2 separate regions of the Homo sapiens genome follow, and region 2 is linked to region 1. The links are contacts of gene promoters, found by promoter capture Hi-C in blood cells and fetal thymus (Javierre and others, 2016). All regions are on one chromosome and are shown on one strand. Each heading gives the region's core, a stretch centred on a gene start or on the middle of the fragment in contact. The rest is flanking DNA. Distances are from core to core; before and after follow the strand shown. Region 1 holds the start of MYO3A (myosin IIIA). Region 2 overlaps APBB1IP (amyloid beta precursor protein binding family B member 1 interacting protein).

The links. Contacts are between HindIII fragments. The CHiCAGO score rates a contact against its expected background, and 5 or more counts as called.
Region 2: a fragment that was not itself captured here is called in contact with the fragment with the promoter of MYO3A in region 1 in 1 of 17 cell types (endothelial precursors); the score reaches 5.8 in endothelial precursors.

The regions. Positions count from the first base shown.
Region 1 is chr10:25,929,930-25,935,526 of GRCh38, forward strand. MYO3A (myosin IIIA) reads left to right here and starts at 4,300. Exons shown (of 35, transcript NM_017433.5): 1 at 4,300-4,399. It overlaps LOC101929073 (a long non-coding RNA gene), which reads right to left and starts at 3,781. Exons shown (of 4, transcript NR_120650.1): 1 at 3,625-3,781; 2 at 2,379-2,432. The HindIII fragment of the contact is 8,280 bases long and covers 1-5,597 here.
Region 2 is chr10:26,545,835-26,551,266 of GRCh38, forward strand. The region is part of intron 11 of APBB1IP (amyloid beta precursor protein binding family B member 1 interacting protein); the gene reads left to right. Among named protein-coding and RNA genes, the nearest start is that of LINC03028, 31 kb to the right of the region's middle. RefSeq lists an enhancer at 5,233-5,432. The HindIII fragment of the contact is 1,374 bases long and covers 3,101-4,474 here.

The DNA.
Region 1 (5,597 bases), core at 3,050-5,549:
ACAACTAAGATTATAATGGTTCAGTAAGTATAAAAGGGAGTGGGAATTCAATGTGGATACAGAAAAGAGAGAAAGTCCTAAGAAAGTCCTTAGGACACAGGAAGGCCGAAGCCCATTCTTGGCCCATCACTGGGAAGCTAGTTCAGTGGGGTTTAGATCATTTGAAGCATCATGTTTTCATCCTTGATAGCTCTGTGAGAATCAAACTCTAATTTGAGCATTTACAGAGGTGGTAACTTTTGGAATTTAGTGTGATAAAGAGGTGATTACTAAGATGGTGGCCTTTGAGAAATCATTGATTCCTCCCTTCAGTTTCCTTATTAGTAAATAGAGACACCTACCTTACAGGTATTTCCATTAAAGAGGGACATTATGCATATAAAATGAAATAATGCACTAAAAGAAAGTTTGCACTTTTAAAAGAGAGAACTTTTAGACCTAAAGGCGATTTACTCTGTTTTCTTGCCTGAGAGGGTCACCACCCAGGCATAATCATAAATGCATGGAGTCTTCCTACAAGGGGCTTGAGTAATATATTTGATTTGACTTATTATAAAGTGGAGAGGGCAAGGCAGTAGAAAAATTAGGAAACATCTGGAATACTCTAGGATGGCGAAGGCCTAAATAAGGCAATATCAGCAGAATAGAGAGATAAGGCTAAATTTGAGAACTAATTTGATTGGGCTGCAGTTCATGTACAAATATCACAAGGTAGGGTTTATGAAGCTCAGAAAGCAGGAATGAGCAATCTTTCTTCCCTTAATTGATCTCCCAGATCACTGGGTCACTTGTGCTGGGCTAACTGATGAGACGCCATTAGTCTACAAGGTGGAAGTTTGCTCCTGGCAAGTGCACTCATTTTTTTTTCTCTCTCTCTCTCTTTTTTTTTTTTTTTTTTGAGATGGAGTCTCGCTTTGTCATCCAGTGCAGAAGCGCGATCTTCGCTCACTGAGATTGCTCCACCTCCCCAGCCTCCTGAGTAGCTGGGATTACAGGCATGAGCCACCTTGCTCGGCCCAGTTCTGCTTTCTCTGAGTCTTTTTGCCAAGAAGTAGATGAGTCGGTTAAAACTGGAATGAGGCTGGACTGTGGCACGCACCCGTAGTCCCAGATACTCAGAAGGTTGAGATGAGAGGATCTCTTGCACCCAGGAGTTTGAGACCAGCCTGAGCAACATAAGGAAAAACAAAAACTTAAAAAAAAAAAAAAAGTTGATATTGCCAGGTGTAAGATGAACAGGACACCATGCTTCTTCCAAGGGCAGGCTGTGCTGTGAAATGTCAACAACAGTCCCCTTTTTTGAGTGACTACTTCTTTCTAACTCATTGGAAAATCTTGCTTCCTATGCTCATAGACTATCAGAAAATTTGATTTTTGAAATTATGTCAGTAAAAATGAAACCTCCCATAATTGCTTGTAGGATCTAACTCACTTTGACAACAGAGACATGGCCCCGATTTACAACTCAAGTACAGAGCTTCAGATAAGGAGTTTCCCAAGACAGCATTCCACATTTATCCAAGGAAACAGAACCCTTGGTCACAGCCCAAACCTCATGTTGACTCCCAGCTCTGCTTTGCTTTGAGCCTATCAAAACTCCACTTCATGGTTCCTCTAGTTTGCAGTATCTCTACTGTAACATTGAGTCAATGAACCTGACTTTGTGGGACTGCAGGTTTTGTCCTTGATGGTCTTAGGCTGGTTGGATTGGACACACTATTCTATTCCGTGTTAATGCCATTCTTTTCATTATTATAGCTTAATTACATGTTTCTTTTTTCATTGCCTTATCAAAAGGTTCTCAGGGCTGGAGGCAGTGGCTCACACCAGTAATCCCAGCACTTTGGGAGGCTGAGGTGGGTGGATCACAAGGTCAGGAGATCGAGACCATCCTGCCCAACATGGTGAAACCCTGTCTCTACTAAAAATACAAAAATTAGCTGGGCATGGTGGCGGTGCCTGTAGTCTCAGCTACTCGGGAGGCTGAGACAGGAGAATCACTTGAACCTGGGAGGCGGAGGTTGCAGTGAGCCGAGATCGTGTTACTGCACTCCAGACTGGCAACAGAGTGAGACTGACTCCGTCTCAAAGAAAAAAAAAAAAAAAAGTTCTCAATTTTTTTTGTCTTAGAACCTTCCTTTATTTACACTCTTAAAAAGTTTTGAGGACTCCAAAGAACTTTTATGTTATAGCAATTAAAACTGAGAAATTTTAAAAATATATTTCACTACTAAGCTCATTACATGTTAACATGAATAGCATATTTTTAAGTGAAAAATACCTGTATTTTCCAAAACCAAAAAAGTTTAATGGTAAGAATGGCATTATTTTATATTCTTGCACATTTCTTTAATGTCTGGCATAACAGAAGACGTTACCTGTTTCTGCATTCAATCTGTTGTGATATCACATATTATGGAGCCACTGGAAAACTTCATCATAAATTCATTTAAAAAATGGGAGAGAAAAAGGAGTGGAAAAAAGTCTTATTATTAAAGTAATTTTGGTCCTGTGAACCTCCCGAAATGGTTTCAGAGACCGCCCCCTGACCCCCAACAAATTTCCCCTAGACCACACTCTGAGAACCACTGGACTTAGCTCTTCTAGCTTCTGTAGTTTTCATATGAATTCTAGAATATATTTGTCTCTTAATTTGGGAGGTAGTAATTATGTGTTTAACATCTTGTCTTCTAACTTAGGATTCCAGTGTCTTTCCAATTATAAATAGTCTGTCAACAATCCTGCATTTTTAAATTTTTTCCCACTTTTCTCCTATATTTCTCATTTTTTATCATTCTTAGTTATTTCATGTTCTTTCATGCTTCTATTGTGAATGGGATCTATTTTTCTATTGTATTTTAATTGGGTGTTGTTTGTCTCTATTGAGATTGTGACTTTATTTTGCATGTGAGCACTCAGTTGCTCTAATTCTTAAAATCTCCCAGGTATGTCCAAATGGCCATAATTATGTTGAATAATATATTTGCTGTGATCTGTTTTTGATGAGATAACTTCTTGATTTGAAGCTGTTCATATATGTTAGGCTTTTGATTCAATATAATCCCTATTACAAGTCCACTATTCAATTTCTAATTTTTTTTTTTTTTTTTTTCGAGACGGAGTCTCGCTCTATCGCCCAGGCTGGAGTGCAGTGACGTGATCTCGGCTCCGTCACTGCAAACTCTGCCTTCTGGGTTCACGCCATTCACCTGCCTCAGCCTCCCAAGTAGCTGGGACTACAGGGGCCTGCCACCATGCCCGGCTAATTTTTTTGTATTTTTTAGTAGAGACGGGGTTTCACTGTGTTAGCCAGGATGGTCTCGATCTCCTGACCTTGTGATCCGGCCGCCTCGGCCTCCCAAAGTGCTGGGATTACAGGCGTGAGCCACCGCGCCCGGCCCAATTTCTAAATTTTAAAGCTACTTTAAGAGGAAGGGTCTTGAATATACTGAATGACCTTTTGAAACAGATTTTTAACATCACATTTTTTCCTTAAGATATGCATTGATTAGGATTAGATGACCTCTCTTTGGTCTCTTCTATAATTCTCATTTAGATAACATGAACGACAGACCCATTGAGATAATTAACAGAATCAAAGGATGTTTTGGTTGTAGTTCTCACCTGTTCAATGGATGAAGGTATAGCAATACCCAATATGTCCCTAGAGACTGTTCAAGAGAATCTGGCCATCAGGGTCCCCCCAGGTGAGCCCTGTGTGACAGGAGACCACAGAAGGTCTGGAAAGGATTGCAAAGGACCAAGTAGAGGGTTGGTGACTAACGGGCTGCCTCCCGAGGGTAGAAGTTCTTGCCTTTAACTTCAGCCCCAGCCCCAAACTCCTTAGCAGTCTGCAAAAGGGAACTGGACCCTGGGAGCGATCTCATTAGCCACTCACTATCCCTCTTGGACCTGAAACCCATTACATTTTCCGGGTCCGAGACCCTCGTAGTGTGGGGAATTTCCTGGGAGGAAGATACTACGCGGGGCCGGGAGCAGAATTTGCTCCAGGCACTGGGCCAGTCCATGAGGGCTCCAGGATCCAGGGGCCCCACTCCCTTCTCGCCGGGCTCCGGGCCAAGGAAGCGCGGCCGGAGTCCCGGGAAGCCCCTCGGCAGCCAGCCAAGGGCCCTGCGAGGATGTGGATGGCGCGGATGGCGCGGCCTCCACCTGCGGGCAGTGGAGAGAGCGGCGAGAGGAAGAATATTCCCCGCGAGCCGGGATAAGGGGCCCCTTCGGCTCGGTTGACCCAGGTCAGATCCTCCCGCCGACCTTCGGCCCGCCCTCTACAGGCGGCCCAGTTCTTCCCCTGCTCGGCTGCCCCTGCCCGCCCCTCGAGGGAGCGCCCGTAGCCAGCGCCCCCGTAAAGAAATAAGGAGGCGCCCGGCTTCCCGCCCAGGTACGTGTCGGGACAGCGCAGGGGACTGGCTTGGGGCGGCGGTGGGTAGCGGCGCCCGCGCGGCGCTGGAAACGGCCCCGCTTCCTTGGACCCCGGGGCTTGCAGGGCGGGCCCGGGGCTCTCTGAGCGCGAGGCTGCCGCGACCGCCCGCCCGCCCAGGTCAGATCCGGAGGACCTGTGTGTTTGTCGGGGCCTGGGGTGAGAGAGGGGACTCGAGGGGAGAAGTAGAGCGGGAAACCAAGAGGGGGAATGTGAGGCTTGAACGAGCTGGATGGGAGAGCTCGAGGGGAGGAGAGGGATGAACTTGAGGGGGAAACGGGGGCGGGGGTGAACTCGAGGGGGAGCCAGGAGGAGGGAACGGGAAGGGTGAACCTGAGGGGTGGACTTGAGGGAAGATCTTGTGGGTGAACCCGAGGAGGGAACGCGAGGGGATAGTGAGGGGGGATCTCGAGGAGGGAACGTGAGGAATGAACTTGAGGAGGGAACGGGAGGGGTGAACGTGAAGTGGAAACAGGAGGAGGGAACGGGAAGGGTGGCGTAAGGGGTGAAGGAAGATCTTTAGGGGTGAACTTGGGAAGGAAACGTAAGGGGAGGACCTCGAAGAGTAACGAGGGGCGAGAACTGAGGGGGCCCTGCAGGGAGACTGGAGGGAGGAGGCGCCGAGTCTGGCGGGTGTCGCCTCGGAGACCTGTGGCGCGCGCGGGCTTTGCGGCGCCGCCCACAGGTGGCGCTGGGTCGGCCCGTCCCTGAGGGAACTGCGTTCCGGGTGATTTCTCAGAACAAGCAGGTCGGTGGAGCTGGGCTCCCTGCAACCCCAAATGCATCCGTAAAGGAGTTTTAATTTTAAGGAGAAAGAGCAGACAAGAAAAGTATGATCATTATTGAGAAATAGAGAAACCTACCAGGAAAGGATGTCCTTTCAAGTCTGCTCACCAACAGCTCTGTTCTGTTCTCCAAGTAGTTGCTAACTCGCACCTTGCTACTATCCCCCTTCCAGAAAAAAAATTTTATTATTGTTAGAATGGAAATTGGCCATAAGCCTTGAAATGACTGTTGTAATGCCACTGAACCCTACACACTAAGCGTTTTTGAAAACTCAAAAGAATCTTCATTTCTGGTTGTTTCTAGTTTTCTTGGTGAATTAACTAATTGTACAGGTGCACTTAAACCTTCTTAAGCATTTTTATAATTCAGACGG
Region 2 (5,432 bases), core at 2,538-5,037, 620 kb after region 1:
AGCTACTCAGGAGGCTGAGGTACGAGAATCGCTTGAACCCCGGGAGGTGGAGGTTGCAGTGAGCCAAGATCACGCCACTGCACTCCAGCCTGGGCGACGGAGTGAGACTTTGTCTCAAAGAAAAAAAAAAAAGATTGCATGATTTCATGGCCTGATAAGGCCAGGCTAAAGTTTATTCTTCAATATGAGCTTGATGACTATGGCTGTTCATGAAAGGTCCTGTCAGAAAGATTGGCGTCTGAGTCCTGGCCCTGTCACCTAGTAACTGGGTCACTAATAAGATGCTAAGCCTCACTGCACATCTTCAAGAGATGAGAGCGTCCAGCCCTTCTTTTGATAATTAAATATGATATGCCTACAAAATCATTAGTGCAATGTCTAGAAACATATCAGCACTTAGTAAGTGGTAGTTATTATTGCCCTCTGGTATTAAATAAATCTATTTATTAACCAGTGGTTCTCAAACTTTAGTATGCATCAGAACCATTTAGATTGTTAAGACACACATTGCTAGGCCCCCAGGGTTTTTGATTTAGTAAGTCTGGGATTGGGCCCAGAAATTTGCTTTTATTTTTTGCCTTTGTATTTATTCATTTATTTTTTAATTAACCCATAGTAATTGTACATTATGACACACAATGTGATGTTTTGATATATGTAAACATTGTGTAATCATCAAATCATGGTAATTAGCACAAACGTTTATCATAAAATCCTCTCTTCTAGCTGTTTGAAATATACAATGCATTATTGTTAGCTATAGTCACCCTACCTTGCAGTAGTGTACCAGAACTTATTCTTCCTAACTATAACACTGTACTCATTGACAAGCCTCTCTCCCCATTCTCTCCGGTCTCTAGTAACCACTATTCTACTCTCAACTCCTATGAAATCATTTTCTTTTAGATTCCACATATGAGTGGAATCTAAATATTTTTGTATTTTCTTTACCTATTCATCCACTGATGGGCATTTAGGTTGATTCTATATTTTAGCTATTGTGAACAGTGCTGCAATAAACATGAGAGGGCAGGTGTCTCTTTGACATATTGATTTCATTTCCTTTGTATATATACCCAACAGTGGAAATACTGGATCATATGGTAGATGTATTTTCAGTTTTTTGAGGCACCTCCATACTGTTTTCTGTAATGGCTAGACTAATTTACATTTCTGCCAATGGTGCATAAGAGTTCTTGTTTTTCCACATCCTTGTCAGCATTTGCTATTTTTTGTCCTTTTATCATAGCCATTCTAATTGGGATGATGCAAAATCTCATTGTAGTTTTGATTTGCATTTCCTTGGTGGTTAGTGATGTTAAGCATTTTTTAAATTCCTATTGGCCCTGTGTATGTCTTCTGTGGTGAAATATCTATTCACGTCTTTTGTCCATTTTTTAAAAATTGGATTATTTGGGTTTTTTGCTAGTGAGTTATATGAGTTCCTTATATATTCTTCTTATTAACCCTTAGTCAAATGTATAATTTGCAAATATTTTTTCTCATTCTGTAGGTTGTCTCTTTACTCTGTTGATTGTTTTCCTTGCTAGGCAGATTCACCGTTTTGGGTCTTTCTTTTTGTTGGTTTGTTTGTTTGTTTTGCTTTGTTTTGTTTTGTTTTTTTGAGACACAGTTTCGCTCTTGTTGACCAAGCTGGAGTGCAATGGCATGATCTCAGCTCACTGCAACCTCCGCCTCTCGGGTTCAAGCAATTCTCCTGCCTCAGCCTCCCGAGTAGCTGGGATTACAGGAACGCGCCACCACTCCCAGCTAATTTTTTTGTATTTTTTAGTAGTGATGGGGTTTCACCATGTTAGCCAGGCTGGTCTCGAACCCCTGACTTCAGGTGATTCGCCTACCTCGGCCTCTCAAAGTGCTGGGATTACAGGCATGAGCCACTGCGCCCGGCCAGTTTTGGGTCATATATTAACTAATCTATTTTGGGTCGATTTTTGTTTATGGTGAGAAATAGGGGTCAAGTTACACGCTTTGCATGTAGATATCCAGTTAACCCAACACTGTTTATTGAAGACACTATCTTTCCCTCAATGTGACTTTTTTGGTTTGTTTTTCTTCTTCTTTTTCTTTTGTGGGGGACACCTTTGTTGAAAATCAGTTGGCTCTAAATGCATTGATTTATTTCTGGACTCTCTATCTTGTTCCATTGGTCTATGTGTCTGTTTTTATGCCAATACCACACTGCTATAGATTTGTAGTATATTTTGAAATCAGTTTGTGACTCCTCCAGCTTTGTTCTTTTTGCTCAAGGTTGCTTTGGCTATTTGGAGTCTGTGTTTCCACATAAATTTGAGGATTGCTTTTTTCTATTTCTGTGTGAAGTATGACATTAAAATTTTTTTTTATTATTATACTTCAAGTTTTAGGGTACATGTGCACAACGTGCAGGTTAGTTACATATGTATACATGTGCCATGTTGGTGTGCTGCACCCATTAACTCGTCATTTAACATTAGGTATGTCTCCTAATGCTATCCCTCCCCCCTCCCCCGACCCCACAACAGGCCCCGGTGTGTGATGTTCCCCTTCCTGTGTCCATGTGTTCTCATTGTTCAAGGGATTGCTTTGAATCTGTAAATTACTTTTGGTAGCATGGACATTATAACAATATTAATTCTTCCAATTTATGAACACGGGATATCTTTCCATTTATATCCTCTTCACCTTCTTTTATCACTGTTTTATAGTTTTCGTCATAGAGCTCTTTCTCCTCCTTGGTTAAATTTATTTCTAGGTATTTTATTTTTGTGTAGGTATTGTAATGGGATTGCTTTCTTGATTTTCAGATAGTTGGCTACTGTTGAATAGAAATGCTACTAATTTTTGTATGCCGATTTTCTATCGTGAAACTTTACTGCATTTGTTTATTAGTTCTAACAGTTTTTTTGGTGGAGTCTTTGAGATTTTCTACATATGAGATCATGTTGTCTGCAAACAGAGACCATTTGACTTCCTCCTTTCCAATTTGGATGCCTTTTCTTTCTTTCTCTTGCCTAGTTGGTCTCGCTAAGAGTTCCAGTACTATGCAGAATAGTAGCAGTGAAAGTGGGCATCCTTATCTTGTTTGAGATCTTAGGGAAAAAGCTTCTAATTTTTTCCCATTCAGGGTGATGTTGGCTGTGGGTTTAACATATATAAACTTTATTACGTTGAAGTATGTTTCTTCTATACCTAATTTGTTGAGATGCTGAATTTTTGTCAAATGCTTTTTCTGCATCTGTTGAAATAAGCATTTGGTTTTTAATCTTTATTCTGTTAATGTGATGTGTCACATTTATTGATTTGTATATGCTAAACTATCCTTGTATTGCTGGGATGAATCCCACTTGATCATGATGAATGGTCTTTTAAATATGCTATTTAATTTGGATTGCTAGTATTTTTTTGAGGACTTTTGTATCTATGTTCATCAGGGATGTTGGCCTGAAGGTTTTCTTTTTTGTTGTGTCCATGTTTGGTTTTGGAATTGGGATAATGTAGGCCTCATAGAATGAGTTTGGAAGAGTTTCCTCCTTTTCAATTTTCTGAAATAGTTTGTGAAGAATTAGTCTTTATATGTTTCTAGAACTCAGCAGTGAAGCCATCAGGTCCTGGGCTTTTCTTTGATAAGAGACTTTTTATTACAGCTTCAATTTCATTACTCATTGTTGGTCTTTTTAGGTTTTCTGTTTCTTCCTGTTTCAATCATGGTAGGTTATATGCATCTAGGATTTTAGTCATGTTTTCCTAGGTTTTCCATTTTGCTAGTGTGTAATTATTTATAGTAGTTTTTATGATCTTTTGTATTTCTGTAGTATCAGTTGTAATGTCTTTCTTTTCATCTTTCATTTTATTTCTTTCAGTCATCTTTCTTTTTTTCTTAGACTAGCTAAAGGTTTCTCAATTTTATTTTTTCAAAAAACTTACTCTTTGTTTTATTAATATTTGTGTTTTAGCCTCTTTTAGCCTTAATATTTCTTTTTCAAATGAATGAAATTAATCTCTATTTCATTTATTTGTGCTCTGATCTTTATTATTTCTTTTCTCCTACTAATTTGGGGTTTAGTTTGTTCTTATTTTTTCTAGTTCCTTGAGATGCATCATTAGATTGTTTATTTGAGAGCTTTCTTTGGCTGAAAAAGTCTTTATCTCCTTCATTTCTGAAGAATAGCTTTTCTGGGTACAGTATTCTTGGTTTTTTTTTTAATCTTTTTTTTAATCTTTCATCACTCTGAATATATTGTCCCACTCTTTCTTGGCCTGCAAGGTTTCTGCTAAGTCTGCTGCCAGGCATATTAGAATTCCCTTATGTGTTATTTGCTTTTTTTTTCTTGCTGCTTTCAGGTGCATCGCTTTGTCTTTGACCTTTGAGAATTTGATTATGATATATATTGGAGTATTCTTATTTAGGTTGAATCTGATTGGTGACCTTTGACCTTCCTGTGCCTGGATATTTGTATCTTTCTTCTGATTTGGAAGCTTTTCTATTATTATTTATTTGAATAAGCTTTCTATCCCTTTTCATTCTTTACTCTCTCTTTAAAGTTAGTTACATGTAGATTTGCTCTTTTGATGATGTCCCATGGGTCATGTAATTTTTTCTTTATTCCTTTTCATTTTTTTCCTTTTTTCTCCTTTGACTATGTATTTTCAAATAGCCTGCCTTCAAGCTGACTGATTATTCTGCTTGATCAATTCTGCAGTTGATGTCCTCTGTTTCATTTTTCATTTTGTTTGTTATACTTTTCAGCTCTAGGATTTGTTTGTTTTTTTAATTATTTCTATTTATCTGATGAATGCTTCTGATAAATTTCTGAATTGCTTCTCTGTGTTTTCTTGAAGTTTGCTGAGTTTTGTTATAACAGCTATTTTTGAATTCTTTGTCTGCCAGATAGCTGGCACCTCTTTTTGTCCATTTAGTGAGACCATGTTTTCTAGGCTATTCTTACTCCTTGTAGACATTGGGCTCTGTCTTTGCATTGTTGAGTTAGGTATTTATTTCAGTCTTCCCTGTCTGGATTTGTTTATGACCGTTCTTTTTTAGTGGGCGTATGCAGAAATTGTGAGCAGATTGACTTTTGTATGTCATTTCAGCACTAGAGGGCCTCCTAAGTCCAGGTTAGACCCGAATCCTACACTAACTCTGCCGAGGATACACTGTTCAAACTGCATGGGCCCTGGGAGACCCACAGAGGGCCCACTGGATGGTGTGGGAAAGCCGGTCAGGCTCTCAGGTCCAGAGGTTCTGTGGACCATGCCTCCCACAGCACAGCATAAACAGCCCATCTGGTGTATCATCACATCTGGCAGGGAAGGTGAGCCACTGCCAAATTTGTCCACCTGGCTGCTGCTAGCCCCACTCCCTCTCTTTGTCCCTTGCTGGCCTCACGTGTTTCAGCCCCGTTGGTACTTGGTACTCACAGTGCTCTCCATAG